Regions from separate parts of the Homo sapiens genome. Here all the other regions are linked to region 3. Evidence: promoter capture Hi-C in 16 types of primary human blood cells and fetal thymus (Javierre and others, 2016). All regions are on one chromosome and are shown on one strand. The core of a region is centred on a gene start or on the middle of the fragment in contact, and the rest is flanking DNA. Distances in the headings are between cores, read along the strand shown. Region 1 holds the start of HSPBAP1 (HSPB1 associated protein 1). Region 2 overlaps MYLK-AS1 (MYLK antisense RNA 1). Region 3 holds the start of TIMMDC1 (translocase of inner mitochondrial membrane domain containing 1).

Region 1 (3,336 bases), core at 778-3,277, 3.3 Mb before region 3:
TAAAACACATACACCGCACGTGCACGGGGATGCTCTGATGTTCACAATGTGTAAAAACTTGAACGTTTAGAGATCGCTTAAATCCCTGGTGTTGCATAAAGGGCCTTGATAAAAAACATAAATATTTGCAAGGTTGCCTTTCCATATTTGTCGCTTTGGGGACGGAGGGTTCCTAAGTCAGAAATGGAATGCTAGCAACACTCTATCACCTCACACAACCCCTATGCCGGGGCCAAGGGAGGCGGCTGGCAGGCCTGGAGCGCGGGCAGGCGCCTGCTCCCGGAGGAGAGACAGCGCGGGCTGGCGCTCCGCGACCCCTCACCTCTCTTGTCCAGGAGCCACATGAACGCGAAGCAGGGCAGGAAGCCGATGGGCCCCCACAGCACGAGCAGCGCGATGTCCCAGCTGGAGAAGCCGTAGGCCTGGCGCGCCGAGTTCTGGATGGGACCCCAGGTGTTCCAGACCAGGCCCTGAACGAACGCCAGCAGCGAGAAGAGCAGCAGCACCAGCCAGCGGCGCCCGTATACCCGCCCGGGACCCGGGACCGCCGCGGGCAGCGCCGCCGCCGCCGCCTCCCGGCTTCTCCAGGAGGCCCCCAGCCCAGGCCCGAGCCCGGGCCCCAGCAGCGGCTGCCTCTCCTCTTCGCTGCTCCAGCGAGAGCCCATGGCGACGCGTCGCCCGCGAAGCCACTGCCGGGCGCAGTCCGGGTCACCGCCGACTAGCCCAGCGCAGAATAGTCCTGAGCAGCAGGAGGCGGAGGCTGCTGTGGTCGCCCTCGGCCTCCGGACCGCGCCTGGTGCGCCTGCGCGGCCCGAGCCGGGCCGGCGGGGAGGCGGGGAGGCGGGGCAGGCGGCAAGGAGGCTGGGGTCCGCCCTCCCCTCCGCGGGTGGCGAGGAAACACCGGCGAGAGGAAAGGAGCCAGGTCCCAGACGGAGGGCAGGTAGCGCTGAAAAGGCAGGGACCAGCGCGGCTGAGTCGGGGAGAGGGAAACTCCCAGAGAGGCTGTATTCGAGGAGGTTGGGCAAGGAACCCTGGGGTGTTTGGAGGAAGTGTCCAAGTTAAATCTTGTGCCTAATAAACAACTCAGTGACCTGTTAAGTGACGTCAGTTAACCTGATGCTTGCTTCTATTTTGGGCTTATTCTCATTTTTGTTGAGTTAGTAACTTCAGAAATTATAGGCGAAGGATAAAGTTTAAGCGTAGTTGGTCCCAGGGGATTATCTCATAAAAATCATTTCTTACGTGCAATAAGTACTACCTATTTTTGTTACTTTTTTGTCTTACATATCCAAAGAGGAGATTCCAAACTAGCCAATTTCATTCATATATATGTAAACTTTACCCATTTCGCCTGCCAATAGGCGAGCAATAAAGGTATGTCCAGTAAAGTTGGAAGATTTTTGCCCCAAAGATCCATCTCCAGTGATTATGATTTGACCACAGGGTAAACGAGAAGAAAGGTGGTTGTTGATCTCTTCACACAGCTGTTTGTTTATTTTGGTATACAAATTCAGAAGCCTGACAGCTGTGGATTAGTGTCCTTGAAAACCTAAAGTCAAGCAATTTGGCTTGTCTGGATCGGGAAATGAGTCACAGGGAACGCAATCACAGGATTCTTTGCCCGAGGTTCGTATTTCCCGGCAGCCACTAAAATCAGAAGGAGTCAGGTTACCACCAGAAGGGCAAGAGAGGTGTAAGAGAAGCGTGAGCTAGCCTCGCATTCCAGGCTGCCAAGAGCGGCTCGCGAAAGCTCACGGCAGAGACCCATCCCACCGCCGGAGCCCCACTAAGCGGCAAACCTTCCCCTAAAACTCCAATCCTTTAGGGTGGAGAAAAGCCGAGGTGGAAAGGAAGGATCTGACTAGAAAAGGAGAAACAGAAACGAAGCTAAGACTACAATAAAGAACGCTAAGGTCCGGGTTAGGTAAAAAGCGCCACAACTCAGACCACGTGTTTGTATTTCCACACCCGGGGTATCAAAACAAAGCTGCGTGGTCCCGCCCAGCATCCGTCACGTGACCTCCACGTGAGAGCCGGCGTTTCCGTAGGAGCCGGGCGGGAGTCGCCGGGGCTCCTTCCTGTGGTGCAGCTTCGGGTCTCGGAGTTTGGCCCCTACTCTGACCCCACCCCAGCTCCGCTCCGCCTTGGGTTCCGGCAGAACCCGCCTTGCGGTAGCCATGGCAGCAGGCTCCGAGGCGACCACTCCTGTGATCGTTGCGGCTGGGGCTGGAGGGGAGGAAGGTAGGTGCCAGGCTGAGGTCCGACCCTGAGTACAAACCCAATGCCAGTTGACTCTCGTGGCACCCCTCGTGGGGCCGTTTGCCTTAGCCCCAACCCAGGTCTCTCTGGCCTTGCATTAGACTATGAAGAAAAATCTATATTTTCTAGTGAGCGTGGCATTTCTCGAATTGTGGCATCCAGATTTTTGATCGTCGTAGGGTAGCCTACGAGTGCTGTTTCACGCATGGGGTGTTATTTTTGTTTTGTTTTGTTTTATATTTGCCCATCATTAGCTAAATAGAGGTGTTTTGAACGTTTAGAGGGGATTAAAATTAAATTTGTGAAATTGAAGGCAACCTTTGAGATTAATGGAAGTTATCTGAGACTTTTGTGAACAGGGATTATGCGCTTTTATTCTATTTCAGTGAACCCTGGTTTAGCAAGTGGGGATGAGGTTTGGAGGCCCATGAGCCTGAGATCCCTGTTATTATTTATTGAATGATTGCACCGTGCAGGGCTGTGTTCTGAATACTGTCGCAGGATCCAGAGACTTTTGAATATTTATAACAATACCTTTTCCAAAGGAGCCTAGAAAGGAAAAAGAATGACTTACTATGTGGTCACCTGAACTATTCTACCAGTAGTACACTCTGTGAGGGTTGTTAGGAGGAGGGATCTCAGTGGGGAGAACATAAATGCTTCAAGGAGCGAATAGTTTGAGGTCGGCCTTTCTTTTTCTTTTCTCTCTTTTTTTTTTTTTCTTTTTTTGAGACGGAGTCTCGCTCTGTCACCAGGCTGGAGTGCAGTGGCGCGATTTTGGCTCACTGCAACCTCCACCTCCCAGGTTCAAGCAATTCTTCTGCCTCAGCGTCCCAAGCAGCTGGGACTACAAGCGTGCCACCACGCCCAGCTAATTTTTGTATTTTTAGTAGAGACGGGGTTTCACCATGTTGGCCAGGATGGTCTCGCTCTCTTGACCTTGTGATCCGCTGAGGTGGGCCTTTCTGATTGGATGAGATGGTGACAAACTCAGGGAGTGGTGCTGGGGTTCAGGAAGTCAGGGAGCAGAAAAGGATGGATGTATTTAGGGGTCAAACAGTTTGCTGAAGGGGGAGA
Region 2 (3,491 bases), core at 53-2,552, 4.1 Mb before region 3:
ATCTGAAATTGGAACTTATGTTTAAAAGGGAAGCAGAGCATAAAAGTTTGGAAAATTTGCAGCCTGACCATGCAGTAGAAAACAAAGACCCATTTTCCAGGGAGATATTCAAGCAGGCTGCAGGAATTTGCACAAGTAACAAGGAGCTGAATGTTAATAGCTGAGACAATGGGGAAAAATGTCTCCAGGGAATTTCAGAGATCTTCAGGACAGCCCCTCCCATCACAGACCTAGAGGCCTAGGAGGGAAAAATAGTTTCCTGGGCTAGGCAGGCCCAGGGCTCTACTGCTGTGTGCAGCCTCAAGACATGGTGCCCTGTGTCCCAGCCACTCCACCTCATGGCTAAAAGGGGCCAAGGTACAGCTTGGGCCATTGCTTCAGAGGGTACAAGCCCCAAGCCCTGGCAGCTTTTATGTGGTGTTGGGCCTGCAAGTGTGCAGAAGCCAAGAGTTGAGGTTTAGAAACCTATGCCTAGATTTCAGAGGATGTATGGAAATGACTGGATGTCCAGTCAGAAGTCTGCTGCATGGGCGGAGCCCTCATGGAGAACCCCTACTAGTGCAGTGCAAAAGGGAAATGTGGGGTTGGAGCATCCACACAGAGTCCCCACTGGGGCAATACCTAGTGGATCTGAGAATAGGGCCACTGTCCTCCAGACCCCAGAATGGTAGATCCACCAACAGCTTGCACCCTGGACCTGGAAAAGCTTCAGGCACTCAACTCCAGCCCATGAAAGCAGCCTTTGGGACTGTACCCTGCAGAGCCACATGGCAAGAGCTGCCCAAAGCCTTAGGAGCTCACCTCTTCAATCAGCATGCACTGGATGTGAGACATGGAGTCAAAGGAGAGTATTTAAGAGGTTTAATATTTAATGACTGCCCAACCAGGTTTCAGACTTGCATGGGGCCTGTGGCCCCTTTGTTTTGGCCAATTTCTCCCATGTGGAATGAGAACATTTACCCAATGCCTGTACCCCCATTGTATCTTGGAAGTAACTAACTTGTTTTTGATTTTACAGGCTTGTAGGTGAAAGAGACTTGCCTTGTCTCAGATCAGACTTTGAACTTGGACTTTTGAGTTAATGCTGAAATGAGTTAAGACTTTGGGGTACTGTTGGGAAGGTATGATTGGAATAGCATGTGCAAATTCCCTGAGGCAAAAAAGGAGTACTGCTCGATGGAAGACCTAAGATGAGGCCAGTATGACTAGGAGGGGCATGGTGAGACTGAGGAGGCAGGTAGGGTCTAGTCTATGCAGATTTTTGTATACCATATTAAATATTTTATGCTTTATCCTAAGTGTCATCAAAAGCCATTTAAATATCTTCAGGGGTGGGGCAGAGGAAGGTAGTAGACACGAACAAGGTTGTATGTGGAAAAGATCACTTTGGCTGTACTGTAGAGCAGGGGTCCCCAACCTCTGGGCCACAGACTGGTACAGGTCCATGGCCTGTTAGGAACCCAGCCACACAGCAGGAGGTGAGCAGCAGGCAAGTGAGCATTACCACCTGATCTCCACCTCCTGCCAGACCAACAGCGGCATTAGATTCTCATAGGAACACGAGCCCTATCATGAACCATGCAGGCGAGGGATCTAGGTTGCAGGCTCCATCTAATGCCTGCTGATCTGAAGTGAAACAGTTTCATCCTGAAACCATTCCCTCCCCAGTCCATGGAAAAATTGTCTTCCATGAAACCAGTCCCTGGTGCCAAAAAGGTTGGAGATTGCTGCTATAAACAACAGACTGGAGTTGGGCCTAAGTGACTGCAAGAAGATACATTGAGTTTTAAACTGATTTCCAACTGAACAGAACTTTATGCATTCCTGCCTCCTCCTACTTTCCCATTAAGTAGATTATATTGAAAAAAAAATCAGTCAAATGAATGAAAGAAGCTTTTAGATGAATGATTATTTGGTTTTGTAAAATGGTTCACTTCTTTATTTCTTTTGCAAAGAAATTTTTTTGCCCTCTGATCACAGTGTGCAATTTGGGCTCACCAACTTGCTCTTTGAAAAATTCAGGAAGGTCGGGTGTGGTGGTTCATGCCTATAATCCCAGCATTTTGGGAGGCCGAGGCAGGTGGATCACCTGAGGTCACGAGTTCGAAACCAGCCTGGCCAACATGGCAAAATCCCGTCTCTACTAAACATACAAAAATTAGCTGGGCGTGGGGGCAGGCACCTGTAATCCCAGCTACTTGGAAGGCTGAGGCAGGAGAATTGCTTGAACCTGGGAGGCGGAGGTTGCAGTGAGCCAAGAGTGTGCCATTGCACTCCAGTCTGGGGGACAAGAGCAAGACTTCGTCTCCAAAAAAAAAAAATTTCAGGAAAACAAGGCAACAGAATCTCTGAACAATCTGCCATGGCGGGAAAGGATGGGACCCTGACAATTGTCAACTTATGCCTCTCACTTCATCTCTTGAGGTCTTGAAACTTCTTTTGCAAAAATTGTAACAGTGAGAAAATTATGACTGAGAGAGATCTGATCTAACCAGCCCCCACCTTGACTCTGTAAATCAAAGAACACGATCAAGGCAAGTCTCAATCATTTTAGGAGGTTTATTTGCCATAGTAAAGGATGCATGCCAGGGAGGCAGGTATATGCCTATCTCCAAAGATGATTTTGAGGGCTTCAGTACTTAAAGGGGAAAGGGTGGATACTGGGGGAAGAGAAATTTTTTTTTTTTTTTGAGACAGAGTCTCGCTCTGTCACCAGGCTGGAGTGCAGCGGCGCAATCTCGGCTCACTGCAACCTCCAACTCCAAGCGATTCTCTTGCCTCAGTCTCCCAAGTAGCTGGGACTACAGGCGCGCACCACCACACCCAGCTAATTTTTGTATTTTTAGTAAAGATGGGGTTTCACCATACTGGCCAGGCTGGTCTCAAACTCCTGACCTCCTGATCTGCCTGCCTGGCCTCCCAAAGTGCTGGGATTACAGGCGTGAGCCACCACGCCCAGCCAAGAAATATTTTTAAATTGTGTCAGTAGATAAAAAGATAAAACAGTTGCATCCTTTTGAATACACAATTTTCATGTGAGTGGGGAGTGGAGGAAATATTCATGCCTTAGTCTGGCTCAGTTAATCTGTATTTTTACATAAGATAACGTAGACAATAGGGCAGAGGAAGCAATCAGATATGCATTTGTCTCAGGTGAGGAGAGGGAAGACTTTGAATTCTGTCCTATGTCCCATACCTGTGAAGATATCAACTTACATTGCCAGGTTGAAATTCAACAGAACTGTTTTAGAGTAAAGATCTTTGGGCCTAAAAGGAATTTCCTTGTGGGTAAAATGTGAGGGAAGTATATAGCTTTTATCTTTGTAGCTATCTTATTTAGGAACCAAATGGGAGGCAGGTTTGTGTGACCCAGTTCCCAGCTTGACTTTTCCCTTTGGCTCAGTGAATCTGGGGTTTTCCTTTCTCATCTTTAACCTCCAAAACTGCCCTTGGTCATTCCTGGGCTTGCACCAAGCTAACTTTGGGAGAAA
Region 3 (3,414 bases), core at 487-2,986:
CCCCTAGAAATAGGAAGAATTTGTGAGTTGGATAGAGAGACCAATATTTCCGTTTAAATCTTAAGTTAACTTTTAGAAATCACACCAACTCGTGAGATTTTAGGGCAATGTATGAAAGAATAAAAACGTGGATGTAAGACAAAAAATCTAAATTCTATTTTACTAAATAATTTCATGAAATACTCAGATAGGACTGTACTAATAAAAGCACTGGGCTGGGCACAGTAGCACACGCCTGTAGTCACAGCTAACTTAGGAGGCTGAGGTAGGACTTGAGCCCGAGTTCAAATCCAGCATAGCAACATAGCAAAGATCCTGGCTCTAAAAATAAACAAATAAATGTTTTTTTAAAAACGCACTGGGAAAGTTCACTATGCAGTGGGTGGCACATGCCAATCTAAAATAACAAGGAAAAACTACTATTTAATTCGATTTGTTACTCTCAAATGCATAAGAAGCTAGAACTGCTAATGAAGCTTCCAAGATGTCATCCTGAGACTGCTCTAACAAATAGCTGTCTTAAGTATTAAGTTACTATAAAATAATTGCCCTTCTAGGCCGGGCGCAGTCCAGCCGCGGTGGCTCAGGCCTGTAATCCCAGCACTTTGGGAGGCGGAAACAGGCAGATCACGTGAGGTCAGGAGTTCCAGACCAGCCTGGCGAATGGTGAAATCCTGTCTCTACTAAAAATACAAAAATTAGCTGGGCATGGTAGTGGGCAACTGTAATCCCAGCTACTCTGGAGGCTGAGGCAGGAGAACCGCTTGAACCTGGGAAGTGAAGAGTGCAGTGAGCCAAGATCGCACCACTGCACTCCAGCCTGGGCGATAGAGCGCGACTCAGTCTCGAAAAAAAAAAAAAAAAGAAAGAAAAATACGAGTTTGGGCTGGCGCGGTGGCTCACGCCTGTAATCCCAGCACTTTGGGAGGCCGAGGTAGGCGGATCGCCTAAGTCCAAGAGTTCAAGACCAGCCTAGGCAACATGGTAAGAACCCTGTCTATAAAAAATACATTAAAAAAAAATTAGCCGGGCGTGGTGGTGCGCGCCTGTAGTCCCAATTAATCGGGAGGCTGAGGTGGGAGGATCACTTGAGTCCCAGAGGCAGAGGTTGCAGTGAGCCGAGATAGCACCACAGCACTCCAGCCTGGGCGACAGAGCAAGACCCTGTCTGGAAAAAAAAAAAAAAAAAAGAAAGAAAAAAGATACAAGCTTGGGTTACAAATATCAGAACCTCAAATATAATCTAAAAATGAAGCACACCATCCTTGGTGTCCTAAGGCTGACCCAGGCTGCCCACGCTGCAGGACACCGCTTTCGCGGCCCCCTACCCCACTTCACACCCTAGGCACTTTTACTCTTTGCCAAACAGCTCCCGGAGGCGGTCCCATCCAGATTCCGGGTAATAGGGCTCTGGGACGTAGGGAAGCCGCTTCTGACGCTCCTCAAGGACTTCCGAATCGGCAGTCACAGCTTCGGCAGCAAAGACTCGGGGAAATAGGCACAATGCTCTACAGAGAAAGCTCCGCGGTGCCGGTGGCGGCACCTCCATGGCCTTCTCTCGACCTACGGACAAACTTGAGCGCTCAGGACTTCAAGTCCTCGCGGACGTGCCGCGGGAGAGCGTAACTGTACGAGGTGAGAATCCGTGCATTTGACCCAGGTTAACCCTCTGCCAGAGGGCTCGACACCCACACCTTCAGTCCCCGGCCTCGCTTTGGAGTCCTTGGAAATACGACACAGGAAGTCCCGCCCGACCGGGGCAAAGGCCAGGGGGCGGGGCGACGGCGAAGCCGGAGCCCAAAAGACTTCCGGTTGAGGGCGGGTTGGGCCACTGCTGTGCTGAGTGCACCCCCGGAAGTGAGTTGGCTGCCAGTAGTGAAGCTCAGCGTGGTCCCGGCAGGCCTTCGCTCCGTGTTTGTGGTTCCTGGGTCATGCAAACGGTGTCTGCGGCTACTTATATTCAGCTTGAGGTGGTCATAGGTTGAAGTAATTTATCGTATTTAAAATGCCAGGAATTAGCCGGGCATGGTGGCGGGCGCCTGTAATCCTAGCTACTCGGGAGGCTGAGGTAGGAGAATCGCTTGAACCCGGGAGGCGGAGGTTGCAGTGAGCCGAGATCACACCACTGCACTGCAGCCTGGGCAACAAGAGCGAAAATCTGTCTCAAAAAAAAAAAAAAAAGGCAGGAATCCCGCTTCAGTAAGGAAGAAAGTGCAATATTCAGTGCAAGTGGAGTAGGGAAAGAGGGAAAGGCGATTTGTGCAAAAACAAGTCCAACCTACTCTGCCAACATTAGAGAAGCCTTCCAGGCTGGGCGGGGTCCGTTTGTACCTTGTCAGTTCTGCTGGAAAAAAAACGAGGCATTGGGGATGGGTGTTGGTGCCAGTTACACTAAGATTTCGAGAACACTTTTTTGAAGAATCAGCTTTTTGGCAGGTCTTCCTAAGGTGGATTTCACTCCCTTTAGTTCATATGCCTACTGCTTCTCAAAAGGCAGGAGAATTTCTGGAATTTCTATCAAGTGTTTGTATAATTTGCCGTCACTACAACCTCTGCTAACATATGCTTCGAAGTACAGTTTTCATTAAAATGAATGCATTTAAAATATTCTCAATATTCGTGTAATTTCATTCAATCCTTGTTAACAAGCATACTCCCTTATTCATTTTGCCAATCCCTTCACCTCCTTGATTCCTTTCTAGTTGTCAATCAAAACTGCCACACTGTAGTAGAATACAGTAAGTGGACTTAGGAATTTGATAGCTGGAAATGCTACACATAAGTCCCTGAGAAGTGACTGACTAGAGTGACCAGCTCAATTAGTGACAGCGCCATGAAGACTACTCTGGGATATGAGATTTGATTCAGCACTCATCGTAGCACTTACAACACTGCATCATAATTTCCTATTAATCTGTCTCAATAAACTATCCTTGAGATCACAGACCAAATATATTCATCTCTGTATCTCCAGGACCTAGAACCGCAGTAGGTGCTCAGTAAATATTTGTTGAATAATTCAGATCTCCTGACTTCTGGCTCTGGATTACTGCTTATCCCATGTTAGGTAGAAGTGGGCACCAAGATAAGTTACCAAGGCCTGAAAGCCCAAGAAAATGGCTGTACAGTCTGTTTCTAACCTATATGTAGAAAAAGCTAAATGCATAAGATGACCCCAGAATTATTCTGGGGTGAAGGAGGACTTGAAATGGGTAGGAGGGTTTGGGTGGGTGTTGGGAAGATACTGACACAATCACTTATGTACAACTCAAATGCCCCAGGATTCACTAGCCTGTAGATGAGGTAATATTAACAGGCAAATTTTAAATTCCATAACTTGTTTCTCATTTGGGTAACGGAAGACTCATTTGTAATGTTCCTTTTGCCACCTGATAACTCAAAAAACTCCCCTCT

Evidence for each region. The method cuts DNA at HindIII sites, captures the fragments that hold promoters and counts their contacts. A CHiCAGO score of 5 or more calls a contact.
Region 1: a contact is called between the fragment with the promoter of HSPBAP1 here and the fragment with the promoter of TIMMDC1 in region 3, in 1 of 17 cell types (non-activated CD4 T cells). The highest score is 5.0, in non-activated CD4 T cells.
Region 2: a contact is called between a fragment that was not itself captured here and the fragment with the promoter of TIMMDC1 in region 3, in 1 of 17 cell types (total CD4 T cells). The highest score is 5.8, in total CD4 T cells.

What each region holds. Positions count from the first base shown.
Region 1 is chr3:122,792,522-122,795,857 of GRCh38, reverse strand. HSPBAP1 (HSPB1 associated protein 1) reads left to right here and starts at 2,027. Exons shown (of 8, transcript NM_024610.6): 1 at 2,027-2,241. The coding sequence starts at 2,178. It overlaps SLC49A4 (solute carrier family 49 member 4), which reads right to left and starts at 789. Exons shown (of 9, transcript NM_032839.3): 1 at 323-789. The coding sequence starts at 665. RefSeq lists a silencer at 463-952. The HindIII fragment of the contact is 6,260 bases long and covers 1-3,336 here.
Region 2 is chr3:123,587,930-123,591,420 of GRCh38, reverse strand. All of the region lies in intron 2 of MYLK-AS1 (MYLK antisense RNA 1), which reads right to left. Among named protein-coding and RNA genes, the nearest start is that of MYLK-AS1, 4.2 kb to the right of the region's middle. RefSeq lists a silencer at 393-593. The HindIII fragment of the contact is 1,187 bases long and covers 709-1,895 here.
Region 3 is chr3:119,496,869-119,500,282 of GRCh38, reverse strand. TIMMDC1 (translocase of inner mitochondrial membrane domain containing 1) reads right to left here and starts at 1,736. Exons shown (of 7, transcript NM_016589.4): 1 at 1,356-1,736. The coding sequence starts at 1,549. RefSeq lists an enhancer at 1,947-1,996. The HindIII fragment of the contact is 2,873 bases long and covers 1,212-3,414 here.